Linked DNA regions of Homo sapiens: region 1 is linked to region 2. The links are contacts of gene promoters, found by promoter capture Hi-C in blood cells and fetal thymus (Javierre and others, 2016). All regions are on one chromosome and are shown on one strand. The core of a region is centred on a gene start or on the middle of the fragment in contact, and the rest is flanking DNA. Distances in the headings are between cores, read along the strand shown.

What was found. The method cuts DNA at HindIII sites, captures the fragments that hold promoters and counts their contacts. A CHiCAGO score of 5 or more calls a contact.
Region 1: the fragment with the promoter of CHLSN here is called in contact with the fragment with the promoter of GPER1 in region 2 in 1 of 17 cell types (M2 macrophages); the score reaches 7.8 in M2 macrophages.

Annotation. Positions count from the first base shown.
Region 1 is chr7:1,136,362-1,140,181 of GRCh38, reverse strand. CHLSN (cholesin) reads left to right here and starts at 1,935. Exons shown (of 5, transcript NM_001318252.2): 1 at 1,935-2,867. RefSeq lists silencers at 1,526-1,665, 1,866-2,315, 2,326-2,375 and an enhancer at 1,706-1,805. The HindIII fragment of the contact is 2,681 bases long and covers 662-3,342 here.
Region 2 is chr7:1,085,521-1,089,567 of GRCh38, reverse strand. GPER1 (G protein-coupled estrogen receptor 1) reads right to left here and starts at 1,455. Exons shown (of 2, transcript NM_001098201.3): 1 at 1,247-1,455. All of the region lies in intron 2 of CHLSN (cholesin), which reads left to right. The HindIII fragment of the contact is 14,676 bases long and covers 1-4,047 here.

The DNA.
Region 1 (3,820 bases), core at 686-3,185, 50 kb before region 2:
CTCAGCCTCCCAAAGAGCTGGGATTACAGGCCTGAGTCACTGCACCTGGCCATGATTCACTTTTTTTTTTTTTTTTTTTTTGAGCTGGAGTCTTGCTCTGTCGCCCAGGCTGGAGTGCAGTGGCGCGGTCTCAGCTCATTGCAACCTCTGCCTCCCGGGTTCAATAGGTTCTGATGCCTCAGCCTCCTGAGTAGCTGGGATTATAGGTACATGCCACCATGCCTGGCTAATTTTTGTATTTTTAGTAGAGATGGAGTTTTGCCACGTTGGCCAGGCTGGTGTTGAACTCCTGACTTCAAGTGATCCATCCACCTCAGCCTCCCAAAGTGCTGGGATTACAGGTGTGAGCCACCGCACCCGGCCGACTTCTAATGAACAGAATATGGCAAAAGCCTAGGGAAGTCACTTCTGAGATTAGGGTGCAAGGAGACTGTGATGTGCGTCTTGTGTGTGCCTCCTCTTGTGTGTGCTTGCACCGTCTAAGGCAAGCCAGCTGCAGTGTTGTGAGCTTCCTTGTGGTAAGGCCCATGTACCAAGGAACTGAGGGTGGCCTTTGGGCAGCAGCCAGCAAGGCTGAGGCCCTTCTCTAATGACCTTGGAGGACTGAGTCCTTACAATATCCGTGTGTGTGAGCTTGGGAGTGGATCATTCCAGATAAGCTTTCCGATGAAACCACAACCCTGGGGGGACACCTTGACCACAACTTGGTGAACCCTTGAGGCAAAGGCACAGAGCTTAGCCACGCCCACTTTCCTGACCGCGGATACCATGAAAAAATAAATGTTCTTTTAGGCTGCTAAATGTTGGGTTAATTTGTTATGCAGAAAAAGGAACCAAATACAATCTTCTACCAGTAAGGAAGAGTGCACCTTCTTTGCTTGTCACCTTTGGATTCCTGAGGCAACGTACATCATACTTGATACGGCTGCCAAGCACTTAACTTACTGGGTGACTTGAAAGCATGCTTTTTTTTCTTTTTTTTTTTTAGACGGGGTCTGGCTCTGTTGCCCAGGCTGGAGTGCAGTGCCTTGATCATAGCTCACTGCAGCCTCCATCTCCCAGGCTCCAGCGATCCTCCCACCTCAGCGTCCAGAGTATCAGGAACTACAGGCACGTGCCACCATACCCGGCTAATTTTTATTTTTTTAATTTATTTTTTATTTTTTAAAACAGAGTCTCATTCTGTCGCCCAGGCTGGAGTGCAGTGGCACGATCTCGGCTCACTGCAACCTCCACCTCCCGGGCTTAAACGATTTTCCTGCCTCAGCCTCCCGAGTAGCTGGGATTACAGGCACCTGCCACCACGCCTGGCTAATTTTTGTATTTTTAGCAGAGACGGGGTTACGGGGTTTCGTCATGTTGGCCAGGCGGGTCTCGAACTCCTGAGCTCAAGCGATCCGCCCGCCTGGGCCTCCCAAAATGCTGGGATCACAGGCGTGAGTCACCGCTCCCGGACACAAGCATTATTATAACACTACCCACCCTGTGTATTTTTTAGCACCTATCCTGATTTTTTAAATTCAGCACGAAGTTTAAGTCCTAGCCCTGTTGATCCCAATAGCCGTAGCTCATCCATTTCGACTCCGAGCCGAGCTCCATACCCTGGACCCTCGGCGGAGGCCCCACCCCGGGACGCCAGCCCGGCCGGGGCAGCTTGCACCCCAGACCCCCAAGCCCTGCGGGGCCCAAACCTAGTCATCTGCACTTGTTCTGGGCAGGGCGGGTTGCCTTGGCAACCAGCTCCTCTCCAAGCAACTCTAGGCCTCTAGAGATGGCGTCAGTAGCCCGCGCCCGGTCCTGGAACCGCCCCCCGTGCTGCCGCCGCTTGCCATTAGCCGGCGGAGAGACGGACGCAGACCTCGTCCAATGGGAGGCTCCGCACTCCTGAAGGCGGGACTAACGCTTACCTGGGGCGCGGGTCCCTGCCGGAAGGCGGCGTCCGCGACGCAGCTGTTCACGCTTAGGTGGGCGACGTGGGCGCAGGTGGGCGCAGGTAGGCGCGTGGGGCGGCGGCGGGGTGGCCGGCGGGTCAGGGCGCCAGGAGACCCAGAGCCCCGGGGCGGGCTCCCGCGGGGCTCCGCCCCCTCCACGTGGGTGCGCGGAGGCCCGGCGCGGCGCGACCGGGCGGCGGCCCTGGGGTCCGCGGTGCTGGGGAGGCTGGTGCGGCCGGTGCGGCCGGTGCGTCCCGGCGCGGGCTCCGACACCCGCACCCGCCTCTGGGTTAACTCAGCGCGGGCGAGTGGAAGGGACTCAGCTGGCTCCTAGGTTTCAGGCCGTCAGGGCTTGCAGTGGCTCTGGTTTCATTGTCTTTCTCTGAAGACGCCCTGATTGCCCTCCGAGGCTTTCAGCTCCCACTTTCTCTTTTTCAATTTTTGAGGCAGTGTCTCGCTGTGCCACCCAGGCTGGAGTGCAATGGCGTGATCATAGCTCACTGCAGCCTCCACCTCCTGGGCTCAAGCCGTCCTCCCGCCTCATCCTCCCAAGTAGCTGGGACCACATGCGCGCGCCACCACACCCGGATAATTTTTAAAAATGTTTTTTGTAGAAATGGGGTCTCACCATGTTACCCAGGCTGGTCTCGAATTCTTGGGCTCAAGCGATGGATCCTCCTGCCTCGGCCTCCCAAAGTGCTGGGATTACAGGAGTGAGCCAACGCGCTTGGCCTCACTTTCCATCATAAGCATGCTTTCCGTTTCCTTCCTTCCGTCATTCATTCATTCATTTTTAAAAAACGTTCATTGGGTTCCTCCTGCACTGTTCGGGGCATTGGGCTACAGCTGTCAACAAGTGGAGACAAGTCTGTGATCTAGTGAACTTCCATTCTGGAGGGGAGAGACAGATGAACAAGGTGCACAGAGCAGGTGATGGTAAGTGCCATGGAGAAGATGAGAACAGGGGTTTTGAGAATGGAAAGGAAGCAGGAGGAGGAGTGAGGCACCAGAACATTCCAGGTCGAGGAAACAGCAGGTGCAGGGGAAACAGCAGGGAGCCCAGTGTGGCTGCAGCCAATTTGGGAACAGAGAGAGAAAGAGGAGGTGAGTTCCCAGAGATGCGAGGAGGGGCCAGGGCAGTCGTGTGGACCTTACCAAGTGGCAAGGACCTTGACTTTCCCTCCAAGTGGAAGGGGACAGCTTGGGAAGTTTTTTGAGTGGAGGTGACACACCATCTGATTTAGGAGTTTAAAAGCCATCGTGAGAGGTGGTGGCTTGGACTGGGTACCTATGGGATCTTAAGGGAGTCACATTCTGGGTGTATTTCAGTGGTAAACCAACAGGAGTTTGTGGTGGGTTGGACGAGTATGTGAGAAAGAGAGGATTTATGGATGGACCAAGGTTTTAAGCTTGAGCTACTATGTGAACCTCATCAGATGGATGTTTATGGAGAGGATGAACACTAGGAAGCTCAGGTTTGTGGAGGGTGATCAGGGGTATTGATTACGAATTCTTAAGCTTGAGATGATATATGTGTAGATGATATATATAAGTACATATATATGGTTATATATATAGTTATATATATACACAGTTTATACACACATCCGCATATATATATTTATTTTTATATATTTATATATATTTATATATGTTTATATATGTTTATATATGTTTATGTTTATATGTTTATATATGTTTATATATGTTCATATATATGTTTATATATATTTATATATGTTTATATATATTTATATGTTTATATATGTTTATATATTTATATATGTTTATATATGTTTATATATATTTATATATATGTTTATATATATTTATATATATGTTTATATATATTTATATATATGTTTATATATTTATATATATTTATATAT
Region 2 (4,047 bases), core at 206-2,705:
GTGCGCCTGTAGTCCCAGCTACTCGGGAGGCTGAGGCAGGAGGATCGCCTGAGCCTGGCAGGTAGAGGTTGCAGTGAGCCAAGATCACACCACTGCACTCGAGCCTCAGCCGAGATCACACCACTGCACTCGAGCCTCAGCCGAGATCACACCACTGCACTCGAGCCTGAGCTACTGCAGTGAGGCCCCATCTCAAAAACAGGCGGGTGGGGAAGACAAGATGAATCACTGCCTCTGTGTCAGTTATTCTAAAAGTACTGAATAACCTTCACTTAGCTGGGGCTGGTGAATTTGATTTTGGTTATTTTGCACTCTTGATTCATCTTTAGTAGATAATACCATTGAACAGCATAAATGCCTCTGCTCTCAGGCTCTGTCGGGAAGGTTGAAAGACTCCGCATTTCGCCTCTGTATTTAATTTCTTAAAAACGGCACAGAGGACTTGTTTTGCTCTTTAAATGTAGAAATTTTGGAACGTATTAGACCGTGGCGTGGCAGGAAGTTTAAAGGTGGGCAGAACCCTCAACTTAACGTTTATTTTCTTTCCTAATTTTGTTAAATGAACTCCAAGGGAAAAATAGTTTAAAAACGAGTCATTCATTTCTTTCCCATGTAAATTGAGTCTTTTGATCGTTGCCAGACACCGAGAAGATACGGGACCTGGTGTCTGATGTGTCCTAGTGTCTGATGTGGTCCTGGGTGAGAGGAACCTAGTGTGCCATTCACCACTGGCCCCACGTCCTCACTGGAGGTGGCCATGGAGTTATAAACAGTGCAATACCTCATTTCAGATTTCCTCTGCTTGTCATAGAGAAATAAAGCCACACTTTAGTCAGCTGTATTAAGTCTGCATCTGTCAAAAGGCGTGTGGCCCTCCCAGGGCTTCAGGGTTGGTGAGAGTGACTGGGGCACCGCAGGGCAGGGCAGAGTGGGCACCCTCATTTTCTTGAAGTGAGACACGTTCTTGCTGGGACAGAACGTGACGGAATACTGGGTCCTGCTTTCAGCACGAGTTAGAAAGGCCGTCCAGGCAAAGCCCCTGCTGCGGTCACGCTGAGACCACCGGAGCTCCGGGGGAGAGGGGTCTGTGCCTTGAGTTTGGGAAGCTGGGTGCTGCTCTCACCAGGGGGTGAGGTGTCTGGTCTGTGTTCAGCTGTTCCCATAACAGGACAGCGGCCTGGGTGGCACCACCCACCCGCTCCCCTAGTCAGTGGTATGGCACCGCCAGGCCGAGGCTGAGTCCTACCTGGGTTGCAGCCCCTTCTGTGCTCCTGGAAGCCTCCTTGGTCAGGCCCATCAGGCTGGAGGTGCACTTGGAACCCGCTGCAGGAGGTGTACCTCTGCTGGACCTGCCGAATGCCTGAGCAGGGCTAGAGAGAGGAAGAGACCCGCCCTGGGAGCCCGCGAGGGAAGGTTCCCGGCTGGCTGGCGGGTGCGTCCTCCCTCTGAGCCAGTGAGTCTGCCCCTTGGCACAGGGCTTTATAGGCCCCCTCCGCCCCGCTCCTCTCTGGCTCCTCTCTGGCCAGGCTCTGGGCGGCCTCCTCAGAAGGCTAGTGTTAACCATTTTTTTGCTGGCCCTTTTTCTCCCACACTTTGGCAATCAGCTCAGTTCTACTAGACTTGTTTTTGTGGAAGTTTCTGGTTTAACTGCTTTTCTTCACCCACAGATACAAACCTTTCTTTAAGTTTGAAGGCATCATACTAGGTGTTGTGTATCTTTTAGGCAATAACCTGTCCTCCTGGGTTGAAGCAAGCAATATTCTTGTTTTTGCAACTGACCTGCGTTAAACACTAAATTTCATAATTAACTTAGTAGCATGTGCATGATCCATAAAGAATTTAACAGGAATTTCACAGACATTTGCAGAGAGAAGTGTAATCCCAAGAAATAGGCATTTCTGACAAGTAACTTAGGAATCTGAGTACTGGTTAAGCATCTGGAAATCTGAAATCCAGAGTGCCCCACAGTCCGACACTGTTGGAGCGTCGTGACACAAGTGGAAAATTCCACACCTGACCTCGTGTGGCGGGCTGCAGTCCAGGCAGTTCAAAGTTTGTTTTATGCATGAAATTGTTAAAAGTGTTTTTATAAAGTTGCCTTCAGGCAGTGTGTATAAGGTGTGTATGAAACACAAATGAATTTCGTATTTAGCTTTCTCATTCTGTACCTGCAGATATTCCAAAATCTGCAAAAATCTGAACTCCGAAACTCTTCCGGTCCCAAGCATTCAGACCAGGGACCCTCAGCCGGTAGTTTTCTCTGAGTGTTAGCGGTGCCTCAGGTCCCTCCTCCCGCGCTCGCTGCAGAAGCGTCGGAACTTACCTGCCGTCCAGATGTTGGTGGCCTCTTCCCCACCAGGGCCGCCTCTCCTGCTCATGGTTGCGGATTTCACAGTCTCGTGCAGGCGGAGAATAAACCTCCCTCCCCGGACTCTCGGGGCCGCTGAACTGCCTCATGCGGGGCGGCCACTTCCGAGTGCGCCCCCTACTGGCCATTTGAATTTTCACTCGCCGCTTCGGGAACCGATGGCCGCCCCATGAGGGCAGAGCGAGGCCCCCCAAGCCCGCGTGGGCTGTCCAGGCCGAAGGGGTCCTCAGGCACCGCCAGCCCCGGCTCTCCAGGCGGAGGGGTGGGTCTTCCTCAGAAGGGAACTTCAGCGAATCTCACTCCTACTTCTAGGTGTCGTTTTCCCTCTGTAATGTTTTGAAGTGGTGAGATTGAATGCTGAGTGATCCTTTGTCCGCTGAGTATGAGTAATGCGGCTGCTGCAGCCTGAGGCGTGGTTCAGAGACCTGCGTGGGCTCCCCCCTTCCCCCTCCCCCCCAGGAGAGCTGGTGCAGGCAGAGGACTGGGGTGCTGGGCCTCCAGGTGCACTCGGCCCCTCGGGACCTGCTCCCCGCCAGGAGAGCTGGTGCAGGTGCAAGAGTGGGGTGCTGGGCCTCCAGGGGCACTCGGCCCCTCGGGACCTGCTGGGGCTCAAGGCATCTGTGCAATAGCAATTTAAAGTCTTTCAGATGTGTATTTTAGGAAATATACACACATTTCCTAAACAGAATGCTGTGTTAATTTTTTAATGGAAAAATACTAACGTGGAGTTTTCTTCCAGCAGTAGAAAGTTGACAACTCTAATATGTACCTTTTTGTATTTGGATGATAAAGAGCTGATTTGCTCTTAGACATTTTTTGACCAGCTGTGAAGTTGAGATGATTTCAGCATTAAAAATGCCTGAGACACAATTTTGAAAGATGTGAGTCATGAGAAAGTACAGAAAAAAATAAGTAAAATAAAAATTCAAACCTTGAAATAGCTGAGACATGTCACTTAAAAATAGCTGCACCCTGCTAGTGCAAACCCATGGCTTCTGGTCTCTCTGCCCATCCCAGCGGCTGAGGAAGAGCTCAGCTCCCAAGCTCTCCACTCACGTGCCCTGGGTTTCCTGGGGAGCCTGCCCTGGGCGGGCGAGTGGCCGATACTCCTAGATTTCCTGCTTGCAGCATAGAGTCAGCGGATCGGGGCATCTGGGTCTTGGAGCGCAGCCTTCTCCTGTGGGCACTGGGCGGGTAAGTAACTTGTACTGTACAGCTACTGATGTAAGAGACAGGGCCCGGACTGCAGGAACTTCCGTCTCCAAGACCTACTTAATACTTGATGTGTGACGGCATGGCAGGAATCTCGTGGACTATTTGTAAGGCATAGAGACCTTTTGCCGATTTTTAAATCTTTTTTTTTTTTTGAGACAGGATTTTGCTCTGTTGCCCAGGCCAGTGTGCAGTGGCCTGATCTCAGCTCACTGCAGCCTCCACCTCCCAGGCTCAAGCCATCCTCCCACCCCGGCCCCTGAGTAGCTGGGACTACAGATGCGAGCCGCTAATTTTTTTTTTTTTTTTAATTTTTTTGTAGAGATAAGGTCTCACTGTATTGCCAAGGCTGGTCTTGAACTCCTGGGCTCAAGAGATCCTCCTGTCTCAGCCTCCTTCAGTGTAGAATGTGACATTGTACACATGCATGCTGGGCGCTGTGCGGTGCTCTGCGTGCTTGATCTTAG